2 separate regions of the Homo sapiens genome follow, and region 2 is linked to region 1. Evidence: promoter capture Hi-C in human tissues and cell types (Jung and others, 2019). All regions are on one chromosome and are shown on one strand. The core of a region is centred on a gene start or on the middle of the fragment in contact, and the rest is flanking DNA. Distances in the headings are between cores, read along the strand shown. Region 1 holds the start of ZNF223 (zinc finger protein 223). Region 2 overlaps ZNF224 (zinc finger protein 224).

Region 1 (5,851 bases), core at 1,803-4,302:
GAAAAAGAGACATGAAAGGGTGGCCAGGGATGTCACCCACCAACAAGGACTCATATTGTCAATTAGCACATGAACGCTCACAGCAGCATTATTCATACTAACCCCAAATTGCACACAACCAAAAAGCTCTCCTACAGGTAAAGGGACAGAAAAATTGTGGCATATTCATACAATGGAATCTTATTTGGAAATGTAAAGGAATGAAATACTGACCCATGCAACAACACCCGTGAACCTTGAAAACATTACAGTAAATGAAAGAAGCAAGTCACAAAAACCCACAGACCCTACGATTCCATTTATATGAAATGTCTGGAATAGACAAGTAGAATAGAATAGAAAGTAGGTTAGCAGTTGTTCTAAATTTGAGTTGAGAATGAGGTTCAAAGTAAATGGGCATGAGGAGTCCAACTGGGGGATGAAAGTGATCTCGGCTGAATTATGATGATGATTACCCCACTTCAAAGTTCCTAAAGACCACTGAACTGACTTGTATACCTGAAATGGGTGAATGCTATAACTAAAATAAACCTAGAGTTTAAAAAAAAAACTGTTAATGCACATATCATTAGAATCAATAAGACTGGATTCTGAGTCCACATTGATAGAATATTTATAGTTGAACAAATCAATGAACCAATAGAGGAGAAATGGAAGCTCTTTTTTACAAGAAAATGCCCACTAATAATGTATTTTCCCATAAGAAACTTCATAATTTAAAAAAAAGTAACATAAGAGTGGAAAAATCTGAAAGACATCTTCTTGGCCAGTGACAAAGCTGAGATCACCAATGAAGGGACAAACGAACATCACTTGGACCTTGTTATGTTACAATGAAAAGGGCATCCTATTGCACCATTGTACCCCAGCCTGGGTGACAAGAGCAAAACTGTCTCAAACAAAAAAAAAAAAAAAGAAAAGGGCATCTTAACACTCCTGTGGAATCCCCACCAACAATGTATAATCTAAACCTAAATGTGAAATATATCTGTAGGGGAAAGAAAAAGAGATCAGGCTGTTACTGTGTCTACGTAGAAAAAGGAAGACATGAGAAACTCCATTTTGATCTGTACTAAGAAAAATTCTTCTGCCTTGAGATGCTGTTAATCTGTAACCCTAGCCCCAACCCTGTGCTCGCAGAAACATGTGTTGTATTGACTCAAGGTTTAATGGATTTAGGGCTGTGCAGGATGTGCTTTGGTAAAAATGTGTTTGCAGGCAGTATGCTTGGTAAAAGTCATTGCCATTCTCCAGTCTCGATTAACCAGGGACACCATACACTGCGGAAGGCCACAGGGACCTCTGCCCAAGAAAGCCTGGGCATTGTCCAAGGTTTCCACCCACTGAGACAGCCTGAGAGATGGCCTCGTGGGAAGGGAAAGACCTGACCGTCCCCCAGCCCGACACCCATAAGGGGTCTGTGCTGAGGAGGATTAGTGAAAGAGGAAGGCCTCTTTGCAGTTGAGGTAAGAGGAAGGCATCTGTCTCCTGCTCATCCCTGGGAATGGAATGTCTCGGTATAAAACCCAATCGTACATTCTATTTACTGAGATAGGAGAAAACCGCCTTATGGCTGGAGGTGAGACATACTGGCGGCAATACTGGTCTTTACTGCACTGAGATGTTTGTGTAAAGTCACACATAAATCTGGCCTATGTGCACATCCAGGCACAACTCCTTTCCTTAAACTTATTTATGACAGAGTCCTTTGCTCACATGTTTTCCGGCTGACCCTCTCCCCACCATTACCCTATAGTCCTTCCACATCCCCCTCACCAAGATAGTAGAGATAGTGATCAATAAATACTGAGGGAACTCAGAGACCAGTGCCGGTACAGGTCCTCATTTGCTGAGCGCCGGTCCCCTGGGCCCACTTTTCTTCCTCTATACTTTGTGTCTGTGTCTTATTTCTTTTCTCAGTTTCTCATTTCCACCTTGTGAGAAACACCCACAGGTGTGGAGAGGCAGGCCCCCTTCAATATCAAACTCCAAATGAACAACTATGGAAATGTGACAGCTAAAGACAACGCATAAACTGGACTTTGAATAGGTGAAGGGTGGGGCAGAGGACAGTCATAAGGACTTTAAATGAAAAATTTAACAAATTCGTATATGGAACTGCAGATTAGATAACATGATGCTAGGTAATATGCTATCCAACACTATCTAGTAAGTACACTACAAATACTAGTATTCTTTTAACACATCTATCTGACATGTAATCGGTAACAGTATTATTTAACATAATATCCAATATTATCTACCATGTTATGTGAAACCCTATAACCAGCCCTTCCTAAATGCCTCTTACCAAGACACCCCACAATTACCGTGGTATGTGGGCTTCCTTGCTGCAGAAAGCTACCAATCAGCTGTCTCTGGTTACAGGTATGTTCCTGGTGGTATTTGGTTGATGGTCATCAACAAAGCAAACAGGAAAAATGTAAACACTTGGCAAATTTGGGTAAAGGGTATATGAGAATTTCTTATACTGTTTTTGCAATTTTTCTATAGCTTTGAAATGATATCAAACGTTTTAAAATATCAGGCAACAAGAGACCACTCACCAAGTGACAGGGACAACTTTAAGGCTTTCATTTGTATTATCTCTTTCAATTCGCAAAACAATTCTATTAGGATGACCCTATAAGCACCATTTTAAAGAACAGCAATGGGAAGTACAGAGACATTAACATTCCACATCACACTGCGAGAAAGAGTGTACACACTGCATACGTAGGGAGGCGGACTGAGCGAGGTCAAAGTCCTGGAAACCCTCAGAGCAGGGCACACAAGGCCACCCCAATCCCACCCCCCGGGAGGCGAGCAAAGCCCCCCGACGCCAGAAGGCTCCGCTGACGGGAACAATAAACACCCTCCCCGCCCTCGCACCTCTAAACCTCTGCTCTTCGCCAAGGCTTCTTTTCCCCTGAGACGATCATCGATCATCGGGTGGTTGCGAGCCTCAAGCAAAGGGGGTTCGTTCAAAATGTCCTGCAAGACGCAGAAATGGCTCAAACTACCCCGGTCATTAAAGCAGGAACCTCAGACTAGGAGACCGGAAGTGTCCTCTCTGCGCCAGAGTGTCTGGACTCCACTCCCCAGAATTCCCCGGACCCGCCCCCCTGAGCCAAAGGGCCCGGGACTCCGCAGAGTGTCTGGACTATCGTTCCCAGAATTCAACGGTTCACCTGCCAGAGCCAAAATACCCAGTGTTCCACGAGCCAGTGGACTACACTTCCCGTAAAATGGACTACTCTTCCCAGAATTCTCCGGAAACGCCTACCTGAGCTGAAGTATCAGGAATCCCGCAAGGTGTCTGGACTGCAGAGCCTCAGATGCAAAAGGAAAATGTCCATCACCTCACCCTTTAGGCTCAAGTGTTGCGACTACATGGTGCTCCTCGATTACACTTCCCGCAACACCCACGGGGAACGAATTTCATAGCCCCAGGTTCCTGGTGGGGAATGCAGACTGTTACCCTGACAGTTGTCCTTCCCAGAGTCCTCGAGCGAAAATATTGAATAGAAAGAATTTATGAAGTCTAAATGTCTCCCATGATTGACAGGAGTGTTCTTGGACAGGGAACAAGCGAGGAGATACAATATTCAAGGAGCTAGATAGAGTGACTGTTGAGCCGTCAGATGGCTGAAAGGAGGCTCAGGGTTTAAAGCAAGGATATCCAACTCCAGGGCCACAGACCTGTACCGGTCCACTGACTGTTAGGAACCGGGCGGCACAGCAGGAAGTGAGCGGCAGGTGAGGGAGCATTATGGCCTGAGCTCCACCTCCTGTGAGATCAGCCCAGCATTACATTCTCATAGGAGCGCGGATCCTATTGTGAACTGTGCGTGCGAAGGATCTAGGTCAGGCGCTCCTTATGAGAATCTAATGGCTGAGGTGGAACAGTTTCATCCCGAAACCATTCCCCAGTCCGTGGAAAAATTGTCTTCCACAAAACCGGTCCATGGTGCTAAAACGGTTGGGGACCACTGGTTTAAAGAATGAGCCAGGTAGAATGGGTTGGGAGGGGCAATGAGAAGCCAGGAAAGCATCAGCCCCTGTAACTGAAAAGTAGATCAGTGGCTTCCCGTTTGCAACGTCCAGTTAACAAGAGGGAGATCTGGTATAAAGAAAGTGATTTATTCTAGAGCTAGCGTAGGGGAAGTAGCACAGGTGTTGTCTTTAAGTGCACGGCTTGGCTTTTAGAGCAGAAAGCAGGCACTTTTAAAAGGTAGGGGAGGAAGAGGGAAGGGGTCTGTGTGCTGGCTTGGTGCCTTATCTATTAGGCAGTTGAGCTGGCTTTTTCATGGGCAGAAATAAGTTGTAACCAGAAGGGAGAGAGTAGCAGGCACGCTTTCAACTGTTGTCTCTTCAGGCAACCTCCTGGTGAGTGAGAGTTCAGAGGCCAGCATGCTTTAGTTTGTAAATTGACTGTTAATTCTGGAGGAGAGTTCTGGCTTGGAGCACACAGTTAGATGAACTTTCCCTGTAGGAAGTGTCTGGTGAAGGGGAGGTAAAAGTCTATATTTGCATTTTTAAAGGGCTACATAGGAAGTGGGGAACTAAGGGAATGAGAAAAGAGAGAGAAATAAATAAGCTGTCTCTTAGAAAAATGGTGGTTCTCAGTTACAGCCCTAGTCCAGATGCTGTGGTACCACTGGTTTGACAGGAAAAACAAAATTCCAGCCACCAATGGAGAAGCTGTGTCCTCATGGAAAAGCTACATTTAACATTCTCATGGTAGTAATATTTCTACTTTAGATGTAGAAACGCTAAATTTCAGAGAAGTTAGTGAATTGCTAAGTATCTTAAAGCAAGTATAACTGTTGAAGAGCTTGGCATTGGTATCAATCTGACACCCAATGTCTGATTCAATGCCATAAAACTGGAGAAGATTCTATAGGTGACGGAGCATGATTTATTATTAAGAGTTTCTTCCTTTCCATTTCTTGGTTAAAATATCTTCATTATAGGAAACAATTTGAAAACTGGCATATGTTAGTTGAAAGACATTAATAATAGTATAAAGCTAAATCAGGAAACAATTCATCTAAAATTCTCTTTTGAAGATAAACCATATTTTTTGTCCTCCCAAATAAACATACATTGACCTGTCGACCTATATTTTTCTTTTTAAAAAGAGTCTAATGTCCTGTATCCATTTTCCTAAAGTAAAAAAAAATAAAAAAAAATTAAAAAAAGACTGTTCACAATTTTTTTTTGATACAGAGTCTTGCTGTTTTGCCCAGGCCAGAGTGCAGTGCGCGATCTCGGCTCACTGCAACCTCTGCTTCCTGGGTTCAAGTGATTCTCCTGCCTCAGCCTCCCAAGTAGCTGGGACTACAGGCATGTGCCACTACGCCTGGCTAATTTTTTGTATTTTTAGTAGAGATGGGGGTTTCACTGTGTTAGCCAGGATGGTCTCAATCTCCTGACCTCGTGATCTGCCCACCTTGGCCTCCCAAAGTGCTGGGATTACAGGTGTGAGCCACTGCACCTGGCTGACGTTTCACAGTTTGGTTTGGACAAAAATTAAGGTGACTGAGCAACCACATAGTGCCAAACAAATTTTCAATGCCCCCTTGAAAATTGAGTGATGGCTATTCCTATACCAATTACAGCTGTATCCTTACTCTACTCTGCATTCACAAAAGATAAAATTTATTGATACTCTCAGTGGTAGTGTATGCAAGGAGCTGAGCCTGAGATGTTAGGCGGCACCTGGCATCAAAGGTCCCTGCTGTTGCCCACGTCCCTGTGCTCTGGGCCTCTGATGGGAGGAGCAGCCTCCAAGATCTGTGAAATACTTCTGGGGTCATTCTTCCATTGTCTTGGACAATAGGTCCTG
Region 2 (5,851 bases), core at 2,192-4,691, 55 kb before region 1:
ATCACGAGGTCAGGAGTTTGAGGCCAGCCTGGCCAAGATGGTGAAACCCCGTCTCTACTAAAAATACAAAAATCAGCCGGGTGCGGTGGCGGGGCACCTGCAATCCTAGCTACTCGGGAGGCTGAGGCAGGAGAATCGCTTGAAACCGGGAGGCAGAGGTTGCAGTGAGCCAAGATTGCACCACTGCACTCTAGCTTGGGCCACAGAGCAAGACTCGTCTCAAAAAACAAAAACAAAAACAAAACAAAACAAAACACCCTAGCAAAATGAAAAGCTTCTTCTCCAGAGGAGAGTAAGTATATGCAGAGGATGGCAGAAATTTGCTTCAAAATACTAAGCATCTGAATTTTGATTCTCCAATTAGGGCCAACCATAGGCTTCAAACATACTATCTGCCACGGACATTTCAAACACTTTTGGACCCCCGGGGTCACAGGGTTTTAGTGGCAGAGAAGCTTACGTGGAAGCTGGGACATATTACACAAACTTCTCTTGTCTGGGACAAGTCAAAGTTTTTGGGTCACTCATAAAAGTCAGAGTAGCACAATCGAAACAATAAGTTGCATCCAATATCAAAAATGGCACACTAAGCATTGTGACATTTTCTTTGCTTGTAGGGGGGTGATAAGCCCTATTTGTTCTATACCTTAGAAAATATATCACTTTAACTTAACACACTTAAGATATTACTATGGTGTATACCTGATGAATTAACATCTGACAATAGTTTGAATATGTATCCCCTCCAAATCTCATGTTGAAGTATGACCTCCAGTGTTGGAGGTCGGGACTATTGGAAGGTGCTTGGTCATGGAAGCAGATCCTTCATAAACATTGGTGTCCCCACCATGGTAATGAATGAGTTCGCACTCTTAATTCACACAAGAGCTGGTTGTTTAAAAGATCGTGGCATAAAAAAATTAAAAATGCATGGAAGTATAAAATGGAAAAATGCCTGCAAACACTCATTGCCAGCAAAGATCAGTAAAAATATTCATTTACACAGTATGTAAACACTCAAAAGAACATAAAACACACAAAGATATTTATTTGATTAGGTTATGAAGGCTAAAAAAAGCCACATTGTTTTTCTCCTTTTGTTATTGTGTCTATGTCATCATCTCATTGAGTTCATATTATTATAGGAATAAATGCAATTCACACAAATTCCTGTTCTTGAACACTTGTTCTTTCCATTTTAAAATGCAGTGACATCATCAATGTGGTCTTCTACTTTTTGGAGTTTTAGTGTCATAGGCATAGTTTCCTATCCTATGGTTTTCATATCAAACAGTTGCACCTTATACATTCTGGCATGTTCTGCTCTCCAAAAGACATATTTTTACTGCCAGCAATAAAGAGGAGGATTTAAATGTTACTCCTGCCCCCAATAATGAATATATTTGATGAAATTACCAAACTCCATTTTCTCTTCCTGTTTCATAGCGTTGGTGGAAGAATATTGGATAAGAAGGTTGACAAAAGCTGTCATTCAAATTTAGAATATTTTATACCAGAGAAGTTAAAAAAAAAAAAGAAATTGTACAGCAATTAAAAGGCAATCATACCAAGGCCTGCATAGAAATCACAAATCATGATCAATCTAGGATTGACTAAGAAAATTTCTGTCAATGTACATCTGGCACTTTAAAAGTGTTACTGTAAATCTTGCCTTAATACTGTTGAAAACACTTAATTGTGAAATATGCAGTGGTCTGTTATTGCAAAATTAACCAAACCTTTTCAGTCTATACTGTGAGAAAAACTACAAAAGATAATTAAATTTATACCGTATACAAGCAATGGACATTTCATAGAGCCACAAATAATACTCTGACTTCAGAGCACAGGATGGGGGGAAGCCAGGAGCCAAGTGCAATAAAATAATGTTCAATGAATATGATAAATCTGATCAAGAAAAAAATTTAAAAGAAAAAATAATAATATGCAAAATATTGCTATGGATTGCAGTACTGAGTTTACTCTGCATTTCAACTCATGTTTCCCAGAATTATTTTTTGCAGGCTTCCCTTTTTGGATACACAAAATTGTATCCAAATCCATACATATGTTTTATCCTTTCATTGATTTAACAAACAAGTACTGAACACATACAAAGTGCTAATCAATGTTAAGGCTGTGACGACTTAGCAGCAAAGACACATGTAGTTTACATTCTAGTGGACATCAATTTGGACATGTCCACCATTAGTCTGGTAAATTCATGAACTCTTACTCTTTCTAAGGCCTGTCTCCTGAATGATAGCTGTAATTATCAAACTTCTGAATGAAGCTTTATTGCACCATTTACAAGGATTCTCCATTATGGTGGTCCTGAGACTACTGGGGCATGCTGAGCTATGGCTGAAGCACTGATGTTATCTTAAACAAATGTTTTCCCTCTTCCAAGAATGGGTGAAATTTATCACCAGCATGGATTCAGAGATAAAATACTCAAAGGGAAGTGCTTACTATGTGCCTCATATTTTAATGTGTCTCTCCTTTGTGAACTTTCAGATGAGACTGCATTCATGAAGACTGAGTGAAGACTTTATTGCACCATCACATCACTAAGGTTTTTCTCCAACATGAACATTCTGATGAAGTCGAAGGCTTGAGGCCTGACTAAAGCACATATCACACTCCCTACACTTCCATGTTTTCTCTCCCATGTGGACCCTCTGATGCATATCAAGATTCAAGCGCCTGTTGTAGCCCTTCCCACAGTCCTCACATTTGTATGGCTTTTCTACACTGTGAACTTTTTCTTGCACTTTAGAGAATGAATTCTGTACAATGTTCTTCCCATGCTGCTCACATTTGAGAGGTGTTTCTCTGCTGTGGCGTCTCTGATGGGTCAGACGAGTTGAGGACCAGCTGAAGCCCTTCCCACACTCATCACATTTGTATGGCTTTTCTCCAGTGTGCACTCTTTGATGAGAATGAAGCTGTGAATTCTGAGTAAATCTTTTCCCACACTCTTCACATTTGAATGGTTTTTCTCCACTGTGCAGTCTCTGATGTTTCAAAAGACACGAGGCCCAGCCAAAACTCTTCCCACATTCCTTACAATTGTATGGTCTCTCTCCTGTGTGGACCTTCTGGTGCATATCAAGATTAAACTTACTATTGTAGCCCTTTCCACACTTCTCACATTTGTATGGCTTTTCTCCAGTGTGAACTCTCTGATGGGAATGAAGATGTGAATTTTGAGTAAATCTCTTCCCACACTCTTCACATTGGAATGGTTTTTCTCCACTGTGGAGTCTCTCATGTTTCAAAAGACATGGGGCCCGACTAAAGCTCTTCCCACATTCCTTACAATTATACAGTTTCTCTCCTGTATGGACGCGCTGGTGAAAGTCAAGATCCAACCTCCTTTTGTAGCCCTTCCCACACTCCACACATTTGTATGGTTTTTCTCCACTATGGGATCTCTGGTGGGAATAGCATTGTGAATTTGTGTAAAATCCTTTCCCACATTCTTCACATTTGAATGGTTTTTCTCCACTGTGGACTCGCTGATGTTTCAAAAGACACGAGGCCCATCTGAAGCTCTTCCCACACTCTTTACAATTATATGGCTTTTCTCCCGTGTGGACCATATGATGCGTATAAAGATCTCGCCTACAAATAAAGCCTTTTCCACACTCCTCACATTTGTATGGTTTCTCTCCTGTGTGGATCATGCGATGACTATTAAGTGCTGATCTCTGACGAAAGCTCTTATCACACGTATCACATCGGAATGGTTTCTCTGCCGTGTGAACCATGGAATGCCTATTAAGTCTTGATCTACCACAGAAGCTCTTACCACATATATCACATTTGAATGGCTTCTCCCCCGTATGGATTCTCTGATGTTCTTGAAGCTGGGAATCGTGAATGAAGGCCTTCCCGCATTCCTCACAATTATAAGGTTTCTCTCCTGTGTGTAATTTATGATGAACATTAAGTGCTGATCTACGACTGAAGCCTTTCCCACATTCCACACATTTGAACGGTTTCTCTCCAGTGTGGACTCTCTGATGAGTTTGCAGATGTGAACTCTGACTGAATTCCTTACCACACACGTCACACTTATAGCATTTCTCTCCCATGTGGACTCTCTGATGAATACGAAGGGCTGAGATGTAACAAAAGTTCTTTCCACACTCATCACACGTATGAGATTTCTCTCCTGAGTGTAATTGTTGATGAAAATCAAAGTGGGAGACATCACTGAAGGATGGTTTATATCCATTGCCCTGGGAAGATTTCTGTCTTGTGTGAATTACAGATAGTCCTGCCTCAGTCTGGCAGGGGAAATCACCTTCTTTGGAGAACTGAGAGCTATTTATCATCAAGTCTTGAGACCTGGTTAAATCACTTGCAATTTTTTCCCAGATTTGCTGGAAGGACCACTCTTGATGTGTTCCTGCTTCTGAAACAGTCTCCATCTCAGTTTGGATCTTGTCTCCTATCAGAATACAGAATTAAAAGATGAGGACAAGTGAAGCCTTTGTTCAGTGTTATCAAGATTTCACTTAGGCCATGGCAGGAAACTCTCATGAGTATAGACAACATTCAGTTTGTATTTTTCAAGTGCACCATAATCTTTGGTTTGGATGAGGCCAATTTCGAACTAAACCAAGTATCATATGTAAAATACTTGATAGAAATAAAAGACGAAAAACAATAGATGTTGACATGGGTGTGGTGAGAAGAAACGCTTATACACTGCTGCTGGTGTGAATGTAAATTAGTACAACCTCTATGAAATACAGTATGGAGATTCTCTAAAGAACTAAAAGTGGATCTACCATTTGATCCAGCAATCCCACTACTATCTACCCAAAGGAAAAGAAGTCCTTACATCAAAAGGACACCTGCATGCCTATATTTATTACAGCACAATTCACAATTTCAAAGATATGGAACCAACCTAAGTGCCCATCAACCAATGAGTGGATAAAGAAAATATGGTATATATTCACCAGGGAATACTATTCAGCCATAAAAAAATGAAATAATGTCTTTTGCAGCAACTTGGATGGAGCTGGAGGCTATTATTCTAAGTGAAGTAACTCAGGAATGGAAAACCAAATACCGTGTTTTCACTTATAAGTGGGAGTTAAGCTATGGGTATGCAAAGGCATACAGAGTGATATAATGGACTATGGAGACTCAAAATGGGGAGGGTGGAAGGTAGGGTAAGGGATAAAAAGCTACAAGTTGGGTACAATGTACACTACTCAGGTGATGGGTACACTAAAATCTCAGACTTCACCATTAGACAATTCAACCATGTAACCAAAAACCAGTATATACTTTAATAAAAAAAGACTACTGAAATAAAATTTTTAATAAAAATAAAAGACAATAATAAAATTAATATGATACAAACATTATACCTGCTACTCTTCCTAGTGAATTTCCTAATCAGTCTAAAATCTTGCATGGTAAATTATGAAGCTAATAAATTGTGTATATAATAAAATATGAATCAAAACCAATTTTAAACAAAAGTAATATAATCAAGACTTGGTACATTTGTGTTTATATTGTGTATCCTTACAAAGTAAAGATATTAACCTTACTCAAAATGAGGTCTAGATGTTTTCCTCAGGATCTGAGAGGTAATGTCTAGGAGTTTATGCCTGAGGAGAGTGTCTTTGTTTGCTTGAGAGTAAAACTAGGTCACTGGAAAGTGAAACAATATGATTTAGGGTTGTAGCTGGCCACGCCTTTGGGGGTCGGTGCCCCCTATGTCACAAAGAGCAACGTGATTTAAGGTGAGGCTTTAGGTTACATGGAATCAGTGGCCCAGGAGACTGACTAGCCACATGGGAATCAATCAACAAATAATGGC

What was found. Contacts are between HindIII fragments. The study calls those that stand out against the background at their distance.
Region 2: a fragment that was not itself captured here is called in contact with the fragment with the promoter of ZNF223 in region 1 in 1 of the 25 tissues and cell types used here (neural progenitor cells).

What each region holds. Positions count from the first base shown.
Region 1 is chr19:44,049,237-44,055,087 of GRCh38, reverse strand. ZNF223 (zinc finger protein 223) reads right to left here and starts at 3,052. Exons shown (of 5, transcript NM_013361.6): 1 at 2,893-3,052. RefSeq lists enhancers at 2,826-3,065, 2,885-3,386 and a silencer at 3,106-3,165. The HindIII fragment of the contact is 19,838 bases long and covers 1-5,851 here.
Region 2 is chr19:44,105,004-44,110,854 of GRCh38, reverse strand. ZNF224 (zinc finger protein 224) reads right to left here. Exons shown (of 6, transcript NM_001321645.3): 6 at 1,029-4,459. The coding sequence ends at 2,571. It overlaps ZNF225-AS1 (ZNF225 and ZNF224 antisense RNA 1), which reads left to right. Exons shown (of 2, transcript NR_033341.1): 2 at 2,518-5,516. Among named protein-coding and RNA genes, the nearest start is that of ZNF225-AS1, 5.3 kb to the left of the region's middle. The HindIII fragment of the contact is 4,133 bases long and covers 1,375-5,507 here.